Linked DNA regions of Homo sapiens: regions 2, 3, 4 and 5 are each linked to region 1. The links are contacts of gene promoters, found by promoter capture Hi-C in blood cells and fetal thymus (Javierre and others, 2016). All regions are on one chromosome and are shown on one strand. The core of a region is centred on a gene start or on the middle of the fragment in contact, and the rest is flanking DNA. Distances in the headings are between cores, read along the strand shown.

Evidence for each region. Contacts are between HindIII fragments. The CHiCAGO score rates a contact against its expected background, and 5 or more counts as called.
Region 2: a contact is called between a fragment that was not itself captured here and the fragment with the promoter of AADACL4 in region 1, in 16 of 17 cell types (naive CD4 T cells, activated CD4 T cells, non-activated CD4 T cells and 13 more). The highest score is 18.7, in naive CD4 T cells.
Region 3: a fragment that was not itself captured here is called in contact with the fragment with the promoter of AADACL4 in region 1 in 16 of 17 cell types (naive CD4 T cells, non-activated CD4 T cells, naive CD8 T cells and 13 more); the score reaches 23.1 in naive CD4 T cells.
Region 4: a fragment that was not itself captured here is called in contact with the fragment with the promoter of AADACL4 in region 1 in 13 of 17 cell types (non-activated CD4 T cells, activated CD4 T cells, naive CD8 T cells and 10 more); the score reaches 12.2 in non-activated CD4 T cells.
Region 5: a fragment that was not itself captured here is called in contact with the fragment with the promoter of AADACL4 in region 1 in 16 of 17 cell types (total CD8 T cells, M1 macrophages, M2 macrophages and 13 more); the score reaches 14.3 in total CD8 T cells.

The regions. Positions count from the first base shown.
Region 1 is chr1:12,642,771-12,645,515 of GRCh38, forward strand. It overlaps AADACL4 (arylacetamide deacetylase like 4), which reads left to right and starts at 1,315. Exons shown (of 4, transcript NM_001013630.2): 1 at 1,315-1,944. The coding sequence starts at 1,777. The HindIII fragment of the contact is 15,531 bases long and covers 1-2,745 here.
Region 2 is chr1:12,289,093-12,291,837 of GRCh38, forward strand. It overlaps VPS13D (vacuolar protein sorting 13 homolog D), which reads left to right. Exons shown (of 70, transcript NM_015378.4): 23 at 1,906-2,032. Among named protein-coding and RNA genes, the nearest start is that of VPS13D, 60 kb to the left of the region's middle. The HindIII fragment of the contact is 1,700 bases long and covers 531-2,230 here.
Region 3 is chr1:12,335,067-12,337,811 of GRCh38, forward strand. It overlaps VPS13D (vacuolar protein sorting 13 homolog D), which reads left to right. Exons shown (of 70, transcript NM_015378.4): 39 at 639-761. Among named protein-coding and RNA genes, the nearest start is that of VPS13D, 110 kb to the left of the region's middle. The HindIII fragment of the contact is 1,523 bases long and covers 554-2,076 here.
Region 4 is chr1:12,360,390-12,363,134 of GRCh38, forward strand. VPS13D (vacuolar protein sorting 13 homolog D) reads left to right here. Exons shown (of 70, transcript NM_015378.4): 51 at 2,331-2,461; 52 at 2,683-2,745. The region is part of intron 1 of LOC124903845 (a long non-coding RNA gene); the gene reads right to left. Among named protein-coding and RNA genes, the nearest start is that of VPS13D, 130 kb to the left of the region's middle. The HindIII fragment of the contact is 2,176 bases long and covers 248-2,423 here.
Region 5 is chr1:12,378,636-12,381,380 of GRCh38, forward strand. It overlaps VPS13D (vacuolar protein sorting 13 homolog D), which reads left to right. Exons shown (of 70, transcript NM_015378.4): 57 at 853-961. Among named protein-coding and RNA genes, the nearest start is that of SNORA59A, 130 kb to the right of the region's middle. The HindIII fragment of the contact is 2,389 bases long and covers 133-2,521 here.

The sequences.
Region 1 (2,745 bases), core at 65-2,564:
ACCACTGCACTCCAGCCTGGGTGACAGAGCGAGACTCCATCTCAAAAAAAAAAACAAAAAACAAACAAACAAACAACAACGACAAAAGATAATTACACCTAGCCAGAATAGTGAATCTTATAACCCTCTAAGAGAAACCTAAGTAAACTCTTACAAAGATACAATGACGTAAAAACACAAAAATCTGCCATGCATATACTCACTGGGGTAAAGCCTCTTCTATAACTTTTGTTTTCTGAAACAAACCAAACAAACAAACAAAAAACCAAAAACCTAAAACATAAATAATAGGAATGAAAAAGGGGGTCTGCCTTCTAGTTCCAAGCTCCTGCAGCACTCGGAGGTTAATAACTTTCCCTTCCAGTCCCCTTGGGTGGTTTCACTTCAGAGTGCCTCCAGTAAAACACCTCCCTGTGAATAAATGGCTTTCCCTAGCACCCAAGGGAGCAGATTTTCAGCAAATTTGTTGAGTGTGTGTGTCAAGAGGAAGACACCAGTGAGTCCCCCTGGTGTAGCAGTTGAGCAACTTCTTTGCCAGTTCAGCAAATTCACACTATGCCCTTTCCAACAAGAGCTGGGTCTCATCCCTATGGGTGGAAACGGGGTCTTTCTTGGGTGCTCTATTTAAGCCCTAAGGGTAGTGGTATTTTCTTATATGTATAGTTTCTATATTCTCCCTTTTTTTTTTTTTTTTTTTTTTTTTTGAGACAGAGTCTCGTTCTGTTGCCCAGGCTGGAGTGCAGTAGTGCGATCTCGGCTCACTGCAACCTCCAGCTCCCAGGTTCAAGCGATTCTCCAGCTTCAGCCTCCCGAGTAGCTGGGATTACAGGCATGTGCCACCATGCCCGGCTAATTTTTGTAGTTTTGGTAGAGAGGGGGTTTCACCCTGTTGGCCAGGCTGGTCTTGAACTCCTGGCCTCAAGTGATCCTCCCAGCTCAGCCTCCCAAAGTGCTGAGATTACAGGTGGGATTACCACCGTGCTCGGCCCAAATTAAAATTTCTAAAATTTTCAGGCTCAAAGCCTATTTCCTGAAATGGTTCCAATCATTTCTTTCTCTCTTAGAAGAAAGTAACGTGGATAAAAATTGTCCCCAAACCAGCCCTTGGCACCATTTTTAGAGGCGGAATATGAGGCTGGATAAAGCCCAGTTTTGCCTGCAATGGCATTCCTGTCTCCCGTCCCAGGACCCCAGAAGATTATGACTACCAGAAAACACGCCAGTCTTTGCCCTGATCTGGCCAGAGGCCCAGAGGGTACATAGGCGGTGACAGAGTGAGACCTTGTTTCAAAAAACAAAACAAAACTGGGGTTAGGGAAGCTAGCTAGGGAGCTGGGGTGAGACGTGCTGTGCTCACCCTAACCACACTCTGACAAGGAAAGCTGGCGAAGTCTCTTATCTTACAGTTGAAAGATCAGGCCCTGGAGGCCTATATAACCCATATGAGATCTCTTTCTAGGGTTCCCAGGAGCCGAGGTGCCCATCTGAGCCTGATCTTCCTGAAATCTTTGGGAAGCTCACCTTCCAAGACTCCCCATGATGAGCAGTATTGATTTTTCTGGGTCCCCACATTGCTTAGGGAAATAGGTTCCTCCACCTCCCATTGGCCTTTTTGTGCTTACCCTGAGAAGCTGTGTCAGGCCACTGTGTCAGGTGTCAGGCTTAGCCCAGAGAGAGTGAGGTGGAGGAGGCGGAGGGTGTAACCCAGCCAGGTCCTCTTCACATAAGCTATCAGACAAGCTCCTCAGGGCAGCAGCTCCTCAAGGCCCCAGGAACATGGCTGTCCCCTGGCTAGTGCTACTCTTGGCATTGCCCATCTTTTTCCTGGGGGTCTTTGTCTGGGCTGTCTTTGAGCACTTCCTCACCACGGATATCCCTGCTACCTTGCAGCATCCTGCCAAGTTGAGATTCCTGCATTGCATATTCCTCTACCTGGTCACTTTGGTGAGTTTACTCTCAGGCCACGTCGTAACCTGGGGGCTTCTTCTCTTGTTCTCAGTACCTTACCCTCTTTTCCCTCTTTCACTTCCCTTCTGTCTCTCTCTCTTCGGACTCCCTCAAGATAGACTTGTCTCTTCTGTATCTGCTATTCTGTTTGCCTCTCTCTTCCCTCCCTCCGTTCCTTCCCCCTTCCCATAGCCTGCCTGCCTTTCTTCCTCTCTCCCTCCCTTCCTTCCCTCCTTCTCTCCCTCCTTTCCTTTCTTTTTTCCTTCTTTCCTTCCCTCCTTCCCTCTCCTTCCTCCTTCCCTCATTCTCTCCCTTCCTCCCTATCTCCTTCATTCCCTCCCTCCCTTCCTTCCTTCCCTCCTTCTCCGCTCCTTTCCTTCCTTTTTCCTTCTTTCTTTCTCTCCCTCCCTCCTTCCTTCCTCCTTCCCTCCTTCCTTCATTCTCTCTCTTCCTATCTCCTTCCTTCCCTCCCTCCTTCCTTTCTTCTTTCCCTTCTTCCTTCCTCCCTATCTCCTTTCTTCCTTCCCTCCTCCCTCCCTCCCTCCCTCCCTCCCTTCCTTCCTTGTTTCCTTCCTACCTTCCTTCCTTCCCTCCTTTTGTTCCGTTCTTCCTTCCTCTCTCCTGCTCTCTCTAACTCCCTTCCTTTCTTCCTTTAGCATCAAACATTTACCGAGTGCCAATCACTGGGCTCTTTTCTGAGAATTCAAAAACAATTTCAGACCCAGTTCCTGCCTTCCCCGGGCTTGTGGCCTGACAGCCCCTGCCCCTCCTTCAGCCGCGCACACTTTCACCCTCAGT
Region 2 (2,745 bases), core at 131-2,630, 350 kb before region 1:
CTGCCTCCCAAAGTGCTGGGATTACAGGTGTGAGCCACAGCACCTGGCCAGCATTCTCTCTAATGGGACTTTGTAAGTTAAAATTCTTAGTTGAATACAAGTGATCAACTACATCAGGTTCTAAATAGTAGGATTTTAAAAAAATAATATTTTAACTTATTTTTTTAAACTATAGAGACAGGGTTTCGCCATGTTGGCCAGACTGGTTTCAAACTCCTGGACTCAAACCATCCATCCACTTTGGCCTCCCAAAGTGCTGGGATTACAGGCGTGAGCCACCGTACCCAGCCTTTAGTAGAGATTTATGAAATGTGAAGTAAAACATTTTTCCTTTCCTAATTATCAAAGATTACAAAGCTCATGTTGATGCTGTAGTAAAAACAAGAATGTCTTTTGGGGAAGGAATGAACTGAGGCTGAGGTTTCATGCCTTGTGCAATTATTTTAGAAAAGCTTCTTAGAGGAGATTGGCTTTTTTTTTTTTTTCCTTCTTACAGCGTATTCCTGTTAATGGCCTTTAAGATTGGTAAAAGCTTGGTTATTTTTGTTAGAAGACATTAGGTATCTAAAATAAGTATGTGGCTGGGCACGGTGGCTCACGCCTGTAATCCTAGCACTTTGGGAGGCTGAGGTCAGGAGTTTGAGACAAGCCTGGGCAACATAGTGAGACCTCATCTCTACAAAAATAGTAAAAATTAACCAGTTGTGATGGCCAGTGCCTGTAGTCCCAGCGACTCAGGAGGCTGAGGTGGTTGGATTGCTTGAGCCTGGAAGGTCAAGGCTGCAGTGAGCCATGATTGTGCCACTGCACTGTAGCCTGGGCGACAGAGTGAGACCCTGTCTCAAAAAATAAAAAAAAAAATTGTGTTTTCAATTCATTGGGAGCTGAACTAGCATGCCAAATATACCTTAGTAATTGTTTTATCACGATAATTATGATAATAAATTTTGTTTTACAGAGGCAACGGTTCAGAATATTCCTTTTTAGTATCCATACAGTGTTAATAATGACTCATTATAGATTCACATTCTAGTCGTACATGTTTCAGTCACGTCTTCTTTCTTCTTTCCACCTTCCAGAAACTTCACTCATATATCAGAGTAGTTTCAAATCTGTGTCTCCAGTGCCTATCTACCTCATTAATTTTGGTCTTTCATTAAATCATACTAAAACATGCTTAATGTTGCTTGAATACCTAACATGTTTCTGACACGTCCTCCTTTATTCTTTTATCCAGAGTATAATTAATAGACCTAATGATGTTTATTTCTAGTTAGTGGTCTCATCTCAGAAAGCATCAAGTTTCTGTCTGTATTTATAAAGGTTTTATCCTTTAAATATGTAATGTTGCCGGGCGCGGTGGCTCACACCTGTAATCCTAGCATTTTGGGAGGCCAAGGCGGGCGGATCATGAGGTCAGGAGATCGAGACCATCCTGGCTAACACGGTGAAACCCCGTCTCTACTAAAAATACAGAAAATTAGTCAGGCATGGTGGTGGGCACCTGTAGTCCCAGCTACTCGGCGGGGCTGAGGCAGGAGAATGGCGTGAACCCGGGAGGCAGAACTTGCAGTGACCCCAGATCGCGCCACTGTACTCCAGCCTGGGCGACAGAGCTAGACTCTGTCTAAAAAAAAAAAAAAAATGTAATGTTGCTGTATTATTTCAGTCCCCTTTGGACTTCTGCATTGAGACTTTTTTTTTCCTTTTTTGCATTGAGACTTTGTTTTAAATATTGCATAAAATATTTTTTGGGGTATATTGGAATATGAAAATTTGCTTTTGAGGTTTGATTACAAAGTGAAAAGTCTGAGGCATGTGTATACCAGCTTTTGTTCCAGACATATTTAAGTTGTGTGACAAAAAAGGATACATAGTAATGTGTTCTAACTTTATCATCCCTAGAGGGAGACCTGGCCTTACAGGGCAGCATTGGGAGTCTGTCTCTAAGTGACCTCACATGCCATGGAGAGTTCTACAGAGAACGGTTCACTACCAGTGGTGAAGAAGCACTCATCTTCCAGACTTTTAAGTAAAAATGTCAATCTTTTTCTGACTTGATATTTTATCATAATACTTGCTGTTTCAGATTCTTGTTGGCTAGACAATAAAGAAAACTTTTAAAAATTTTTACCTTCTTAGAGGTGAAATTGAGAAGTTATGGTTATGAGGAGTTCTTCCTGACTTTAAATTTCATTAAAATGGATCTGTGTTGAAGTGGGCTACTTAAAGCTTCATAAACAGATGGGGTATGAGTTAGGTGCGGTGGGTCATGCCTGTAATCTAAGCTCTTTGGGAGGCCAAGGCAGATGGATTGCTTAAAGCCAGGAGTTCGAGACCACCCTTGGCAACATAGACACTGTCTCTATAGAAGAAAAAAGCCGTCTGTGTGTGGTGGTATGCAACTGTAGTTCTAGCTACTTGAGAGGCTGAGGTGGGAGGATCCCTTAATCCCAGGAGTTGGAGGCTGCAGTGAGCCATGACTGTGCTACTGCACTCCAGCCTGGGTGATGGAGGGGGGCCTTGTCTCAACACACACACGCACACCCACCCCAGATAGGGTATGATTGAATATTTCTGATTATTAAAAGCCCTGGGCTCTCTTGCTGGTTTTCCACGAACTTGGTGTATGTCCTGAGACAAGTCATGCAGTCTTCGTGCATCAGTTTTTCTATATATTAAGGGGACTGAATCATTAGAACATTTCTGAGCTTCCATGTAGCTCTAAAAGTTCTGGAATGATTT
Region 3 (2,745 bases), core at 65-2,564, 310 kb before region 1:
CAGAAGTAAAACTACTTGTGGAGAATTGTCTGCTGAATTTCAGCCTCTGGAGTGCAGTGGCATGATCTCGGCTCACTGCAACCTCCACCTCCTAGGTTCAAGCGATTGTCCTGCCTCAGCCTACTGAGTAGCTGGGACTACAGGTGCACGCCACCACGCCTACATAAGTTTTGTATTTTTAGTAGAGATGGGGTTTTGCTATGTGGGCCAGGCTGGCCTCAAACTCCTGGACTCAAGTGATCCGCCTGCCTGAGCCTCCCGAAGTGCTGAGATTACAGGCGTGAGCCACCGCGTCCGGCCTCCATATAAATTTTAGATTCAGCTTTTAAAATTCCACAAAATGCCCTATGGGTATTTTGATGGGGATTTTATTGAATCTATAGATTGGTTTGAAGAGAATCCACATCTTTAATGTCTTTCACATTATGATAGAGTTTTGTGGCGATGGTTGTCTATTCATGGTAATCTCTTTCAGTGGAGCGTGAGGCTCTCCAGGGCATAGACTTTCTCGGAATCTAGCACAGGCCAGGCATGTAATGAGACACTCAATAAAAGCTTGTTTTGCTGAATTGAAATTATTTGACTCGAACCCTCCATCTTTTTTAGTTCTCTTAATATCTCTGGGGGATTCTTTCTAGACCAGTATGTAAGTACCAAGGAATCGTGGATGGCAGATTACTGTAAAGATGACAAGGACATAGAGTCAGCTAAATCAGAAGACTGGATGGGCTCTTCGGTGGATCCTCCATGTTTTGGACAAAGTAAGAGTTTTCACTACATGTGTTTAACTAAATCACTTTTGACCTACAAAGCAATGCTTCACTGAGAAATTCAAATGGAACCATCATTCTGCGTGGAAAAACCTACAGGAAATTCTGACTATCTTCTGTAGTTCTGTTTTAGTCTTTGCAGGAGACAGTTTTCTGGCATGAACTACTGAACTTATAAATGTGGGCTGTAATTCCACCTTTGCGGGGGAGAAAAGATCTGCAACACGTAATTCCTAAATCCTGGTAATAATGCATATGAACTGGTGCACCTGAGAATGCATCAGGATCAGCTGTGGTTTGTGTTTTACTCTGCAAAACATTGGTTTTCTAATTGATCGGATTTTTTTGGCCAGATTTTTAAAAGCATCTAAAATGGTCTTCTAAATCTAGAGATAGAGGGTTTGGACATATTCTTGAAAAGAGGGCGAGCAGGAGCCCATGTGGAAAAAGTTGTTAAAAAGGGAGCCCTGTGCTGTTCATAGAGTATAAAAGAATTGAATGCCCTGCCTCTTGAAGAAAGAGGAGTCAGCTTGCTCTCTATTGATGATGCTTTCTTTCCTTATTTAATGCCTCGCCAGCTCTGTTTTCCTCAGAGCTGGGGAGATGGTGATGGACAACTGCATGGTCTTAGTTGTTCCACAAGCCATTGTCATCCAAATTCAACTCAGCTCCAACTCTTACAATGTGGTTTCTTTGGGGAGTCTTGGCTGGACTTCACATAGCTCATGAATACTTAAATATTCCATCTGGTCTGCAAACGTGTCATGGGAAGATTGGGTGTTCTTAGTGTGTGAAGTAATTGTACTGGTTCATCTCTCCTCAGGGTGAATAAGTGGACTTTCTGTCTGCCTTGTACTTCTAGAAAGAGACACAAAGAAATGTCAGCTGTGCTTGTTCTCTGTTTTCCCAGGCTGTTGCTTCTGAGTCTCAAGGTCATTACTTAGGAGCCAGGGCTTTTCAGATATTGTCAGCTTTGATTTTAGCTCCTCCTCCAACCTTCCCAATTTGTGTGTCAAGAAAATGTAACATAGTCTACCCAGAAGACTCTAAATAATCTTTGTAATATGTCCAAGAGAGTGTGTTTCTAAAACATTATTCATGCAGGGGCATCTTCAATTCAGAGTCAAACTCTAGCAAGGCCTGGTCTGCAAGATTCTGATGAAAGATTTTCTTGTCCCTCTCTTTCTTCTTTCCTTCTTCCCTCCCTGCCTCCCTTTCTTCCTTCCTTTTTAAAATTTTTGTCCCTCTCTCTTTCTCTATAGTTAAAAGGCTTCCTCATCTATATTAAATGCTGGTGCTGAGTTAAAGCTTGATTTTTATTTATTTAAAGATTTTTATGATTACTTAGGCTTATAAAAGTGTAATCTATCTTTTTAATAAGACATAACTTGAATATGCATAAATTTCCAAACCTCTTTTCTTATTGGAAATTCCTGGATGGTAGTACAGTACATTCCAGGATTGTATTCTTTTAGCAGGCCTACTAAAATGATCATTGGGAATTTATTTTGAAAGTGAGTAGGGTTCAACCTTGTTGAACTAATCATAAACTTTCAGGTCTTATTCAAGAATAGTAAGTCATATTCCTACAAAAGTTATGCTTTTTATTCAGACTGGCCTTAAAACAAGCTCTTGGGAATAGCCCTTAACATGAAATTTAGCCTAAGGGACCTGCTGCTTTCTCACTGTTTCTTTATCAGGGGAAAGAAAATACCAGCCTCCTTTTGACAAAATTGTTGGCTTTGTTCAGTCAGGGCTGAGATTTTGCAGGTAAACCTGGGCGGTGTGGCACTTCATTGAATTTATTAGTTTTGTATTCCAAGGACATTTTATGAAAATATCAAATATTCTGAAAACTTCCATGCTTGATTTAGAATTTAAATAAACACTATGAGACAACTCCTTGGTAGAGATTGTTTAAATTTGGAACACATACTGACTCTTCCCCTGAATTTTTGAGATCCCCTGAGACTGG
Region 4 (2,745 bases), core at 86-2,585, 280 kb before region 1:
CATGGATCTCCAAAAAGAACGATTTTGTGCCTGTTGATCTTATCAACTTATTGATTTATCAGGGGTTTCCCAGGGCAATATAAGATGTGAAGGGGGAAAGAAGCCCACCTTTTTCCAAAGATTGAGTGTCTGTATTGTTCAGAGTACCCTAGACTCTTTTTATAATATTAAATTAGATACATCTTTTGTAGTTAGACTTTTTATTAGATATCACCTAACTATGATAATGTTGATTTCTGACAATGAAAGCTTCTCTGCATGTCACAGAAAGAAGTGATAGGGTATAGTTCCATATCCCAATATTACATAGCATTTCTTAGATACAGAGTTTTAGAGAGATTTTTGTGTGTGACTTTTCTCAGTCTTTCAGGTATTTTCAAGGCTTGTGTTAAAGGAACATCAGCATTTTCAAGCCAGTTTAAGTGAATTACGGCATTTACAGATTGGAATATTTATAATTGGGATTGTGTTGAGAAATCTATGACAGCCGGTTGTCAAATGCTAAGGTGGAGTTTTCTATTTTAATGGTTCTCTTGATACTTGATGACTGCTGAATGGAGTGCAGTCCTTGTATATGTCGCATCACAATACAAGCAAGCCTGATGAGGGTGCTGCTCCGGAGGCTGACTGCCTGGACTTGAATCCCAGTTATGGCACATACTAGCTGCGTGACATAGAGTCAGTTACTTAGCTTTCCATGCCTTCGTTTCCTCATCTATAAAATGGAAATAATTAAAATATCTAACTTAGAAGGTTGTTATGGGGATTCAGTGTAAAGCCTTTGGGGGAGGACCTAGCATGTATTAAGAGACCAGTAATTATTATTATTGTTGTTGTTGTTGTTATTTTTATTATTTCTATGATAAATATTTTTATCAATGGGTGACCAGAGCTCAGCCCAGTACGTTGAATGTCATTGCTGTATTTATTGTCTGAATGAATGAGTGAATAAATTCATCCCACTGAATTTTTTATTTTTATTTTTATTTATTTATTTATTTATTTATTTATTTATTTTTTTTTTGAGACGGAGTCTCGCTCTGTCGCCCAGGCTGGAGTGCAGTGGCGGGATCTCGGCTCACTGCAAGCTCCGCCTCCCGGGTCCACGCCATTCTCCTGCCTCAGCCTCCCAAGTAGCTGGGACTACAGGCGCCCGCCACTACGCCCGGCTAATTTTTTGTATTTTTAGTAGAGACGGGGTTTCACCGTTTTAGCCGGGATGGTCTCGATCTCCTGACCTCGTGATCCGCCCGCCTCGGCCTCCCAAAGTGCTGGGATTACAGGCGTGAGCCACCACGCCCGGCCTGAATTTTTTATTTTTAAAAATTGTTATCAGAGTTTTTAAGATATTTCAGTGCTTTTCTATATTTGGAACCGGCTGTCTTGAGATTTCCTTTGGACTGTTTTCTTATTTTTTCCTAATACATAGTAGGCGCTGAAAACAGTAATTTTATAGATGAATAAATTCTTTTATTTATTTATTTTTTGAGACGGAGTCTCACACTGTCACCCAGACTAGAGTGTAATGGTGCAATCTTGGCTCATTGCAACCTCTGCCTCCCAAGTTCAAGCAATTCTCTTTCTTGCCTCAGCCTCCCGAGTAGCTGAGACTACAGGTGCGTGCCACCATGCCCAGCTAATTTTTGTATTTTTAGTAGAGATGGGGTTTCGCCATGTTGGCCAGGCTGGTCTTGAACTCCTGACCTCAAATGATCCACCCATCTCGGCCTCCCAAAGTGCTGGGATTACAGGCATGAGCCACCACACCCGGCCATGAATAAGTTCTATAGTACTTAGCATTATGTTTGAGCTGGATTCTTGGGCAATGGGCTAAAATAAAATACTGGAGAAGAGTCAGTAAAGTTTAGAACATTACAGAATCCAAGAAAGTAATCTGAAATTTCCACTGTATCTGTAAAAGTGGCAGGTTCTCTAGAAGGAAATTTTGTGTCCCAGGTGTAAGCCAAAAAGTATCATGTGAAACTGTTGTAAGTATTCAGCTTCATAAATGGAAACCTAACATATATGTGACTGGACACCTGTGTATTTTAGTTGCTGTTAAATGGTACACACTGTGTGAAGAAACTAGGAATTAAGGGGATGTTGATCTTGCCTCTGAACCTTTTTAAGGCCTAAATGGGAATAAGGAGTAATAATACTTTGAGTACAATTGCTGTTTTCATTACATTCCTAGAAGGTTCAATATCCTCTGGGTGATACAGTTATTTTCTCAGAGAAACTAAGTAACTGTGAAGGTTATTTATTTTTGTCAGACCAAGAGTTTTCTCTCTTCATGGTTAACTCATAAAAGTGGTTCTTGTTATTTGTAGGTATTGATGTCAAGAAAGGCCGAGGTCGATACATTGATACCTGCATGGTCATCTTTGCCCCCCGTTACCTGTTAGATAATAAATCATCTCACAAGCTTGCATTTGCACAGAGGGAATTTGCCAGGGGACAGGTGAGCAGTTTGCTTTTGAAGGATGAGAGTGCCTATTTAATAGCACGAGTTTTAATGTCATCTTCTGTGAAGACTGTACGTTCTGTGATGCAAGTAACTGCTCTGTGCCTTTGGTACCCAGATAGCTCCTGTTAGAGGGTAAGGCTCAGAGTAGGTACTCAGTAACACTTATTGTCATGAATCGACTTGTTGACTAAAGCCTGTGATCCTATGTGTTTTAGGGAACAGCCAATCCCGAAGGTTACATTTCCACCCTTCCTGGTTCCAGTGTGGTGTTCCACTGG
Region 5 (2,745 bases), core at 77-2,576, 260 kb before region 1:
TTCAGACTCAGAGGAAATCTACAACAAAAACTAAGAGTTCTATAAATAAAGTAAAAATGTATATTTTTTTCAATGACAAAAACCTGTCATATTCCCAAATATGAGTATTGGGCTTTCCCTTTAAATATTTTAAGCTTTGATGAAATACCCATGCAGATGTTAAGAAACTTCAAACAATAAAATGGGTATAATGTGAAAAGTGATTATTTCTTCCACCCAAATTCCAGTCCGTCCTTATTCTGAGGAAGTAGTTTCTTTTTTACATCTTCCTAATAACTTTGTCAAATCCTTCAAAAGCAGAAATTAATTATTAAGAGAATAATCAGATGTATTTTTATGAATAAATCCTTGGATTCAAATTAGCTCTTTAAGTTTGAATAAGTTACTTGATTTGCCTGTGCCTTAGTTTCTCCATAAAAATCAGTGTGTTTTCAGTTAATACCTTATTTCCAGAAAAACTTTAGTTGACTTACAAGTTAGAACAGAAAAGAATTTAGAAATACAACAGAAAAAAGACTGTTGGAAAGATTTTACATGTATTTAGCAGCTATTCCTTCCATACTGCATGGTAAGTTGCCGTTTTGAGAATGCAAGAAGCCATATTACTGTGTGTTATGAAATCTTTAATGTCTTACTTTGTGTCCCCTCTTCATGTTTTTCCATTTTGCTTTATTCCTCTTTTCTTATCAAGAGATACCTAACTGCCCTAGGATTCAAGCTAACTACCCATTCAGTTTTAAGGGTGGAGGGCATTAGAAGGAAGAAGAGCAAAGCCATCATCCTCATGTTCCCTTCAGGCGTGAAACAGTTGACTCGGAGGTTTCATGGTTCATTGTGTATTCCGTTTTCCAGATACGAGCCACTGATGCTGAGAAAGCCTGACCGCAGGCGAAGCACAACTCAGACGTGGAGTTTCCGAGAAGGAAAACTGACCTGTGGGTTACATGGGTTGGTCGTCCAGGTCAGTCGTTTTTGATCCCCAATTGCAGCAAGCAGTGGTTGAGCCTTCTTTGAAACAAAGTCTCTACTAAGTTATACATGATGAATTGTTCAGTGGGAAAACTAGTTACAGAGCAATACTTATTCTATTCCATTTTAGTTAAAAGGAAGTCAGAGTTTTGTTGTGCATTTGTGTATTTTTTTTTTTTTTTGAGGTGGAGTCTTGCTCTGTCGCTCAGGCTGGAGTGCAGTGGCACAATCTCGGCTCACTGCAAGCTCCGCCTCCCGGGTTCACGCCATTCTCCTTCCTCAGCCTCCCGAGTAGCTGGGACTACAGGTGCCCGCCACCACGCCCGGCTAATTTTTTGTATTTTTTAGTAGAGATGGAGTTTCACCATGTTAGCCAGGATGGTCTCGATCTCCTAACCTCGTTATCCACCCGCCTTGGCCTCCCAAAGTGCTGGGATTACAGGCGTGAGCCACCGCGCCCAGCCCCGCATTTGTGTATGTTTACATGGGAAAAGTTCTTGGAGATGGTATGCAATACATGTGTTAAGAGTGATTGCCCTGGATGATAAGATATGTTTTTCATGGCTTACCTGGACTTTTTCTTTGATGTCATATATTACCAATGTAATTTTAAAAAGAAAAAAATTACCTATGTAATTTTAAAAAGAAAAAAATTACCTATGTAATTTTAAAAGTCCAGCACTAAGTTAGATGAATTAGATTTAGACCTGGGAAGTTAATGGCATAGCTGCAAGTCCTCTGTAAAGGGTTCTATGACATGGTGAGCATTCGCCAGGCATCTACATGCTCTTGATTCTGTTCATTTTGGCCTAAATAAGCATTGAATTGCTGTAGCAAATGTCAGAATGAAGATTGCTGGACAGTTTCCTCCTCAGCCAGTCTACCTCATGATAAACTCCCAGCTACTTTCTAAGCAAATATGTGTTTGGCAAATTACCAAGGGTTTGGATTTTCTGCCCTTTCTGGCTTCAGGCTGGGAATGAGAACAGGGGTCTGAGAAGTAGGAAGGTGTCTAGGAGGTTTGGACATGCAGTAGACTAGCACCTGCAATTGTGTGTGCAGTTCTGTCCAGCCTGGGATTTTACACAAAAGGGAAACAGGAGACTATCAGACTCTTGATAGAGAACTCTGAGTGTACTTAGATTGTACTCCAGGGCAGTTTGCAAAAACTGTAAGGAGCCTCTGACTGCTTTTGGTGAGATTTATTTTCTTTATCTCTATCGCCCTGAGCTTTTTTCATCAAAGACAAGCTGCTTACTTATATGTAGCACACATCTGGAATGGATTTGTGATTTTCAATTAGCAATACAATTCAAACTTCTAGAGGCAAAGAGGGCTTGTTATAATTGGTGGGTTTCATGTCTGACCCTGACTTCACTTCTAGTTTGTTTCTAAAGCCCATGTAATTCCAATGCTCTTGGAGCATTTTCTTCCTTAAAATCTTTTTTTGGTGTTTGTTGTTTTGTGAATCTATTTCATCATTTCCCTGCTTGTTAGTGACAGTATAATAACAGTATTCAGCAGAGCAGAATGTGTTTTGGTTAGGGAAGTAAGCTTGTTTCAATCTTATTATGCTGAATAAAGTCATTGAAGACATTAAAACATTTTCTGACACTGCTCTTATTAGGTTGTATATGCTCTTTCTTTCTAAACTTATAATAGCTATAAAAAGCTTTCTTTGTGTTGAAACCTGTACTATAAACCCTGCTCAAAGTTTGCTTTTCATGAGTCAATATTTAAAAGTTAACAAAGGGGATTTAGACACTCTTTGCCATT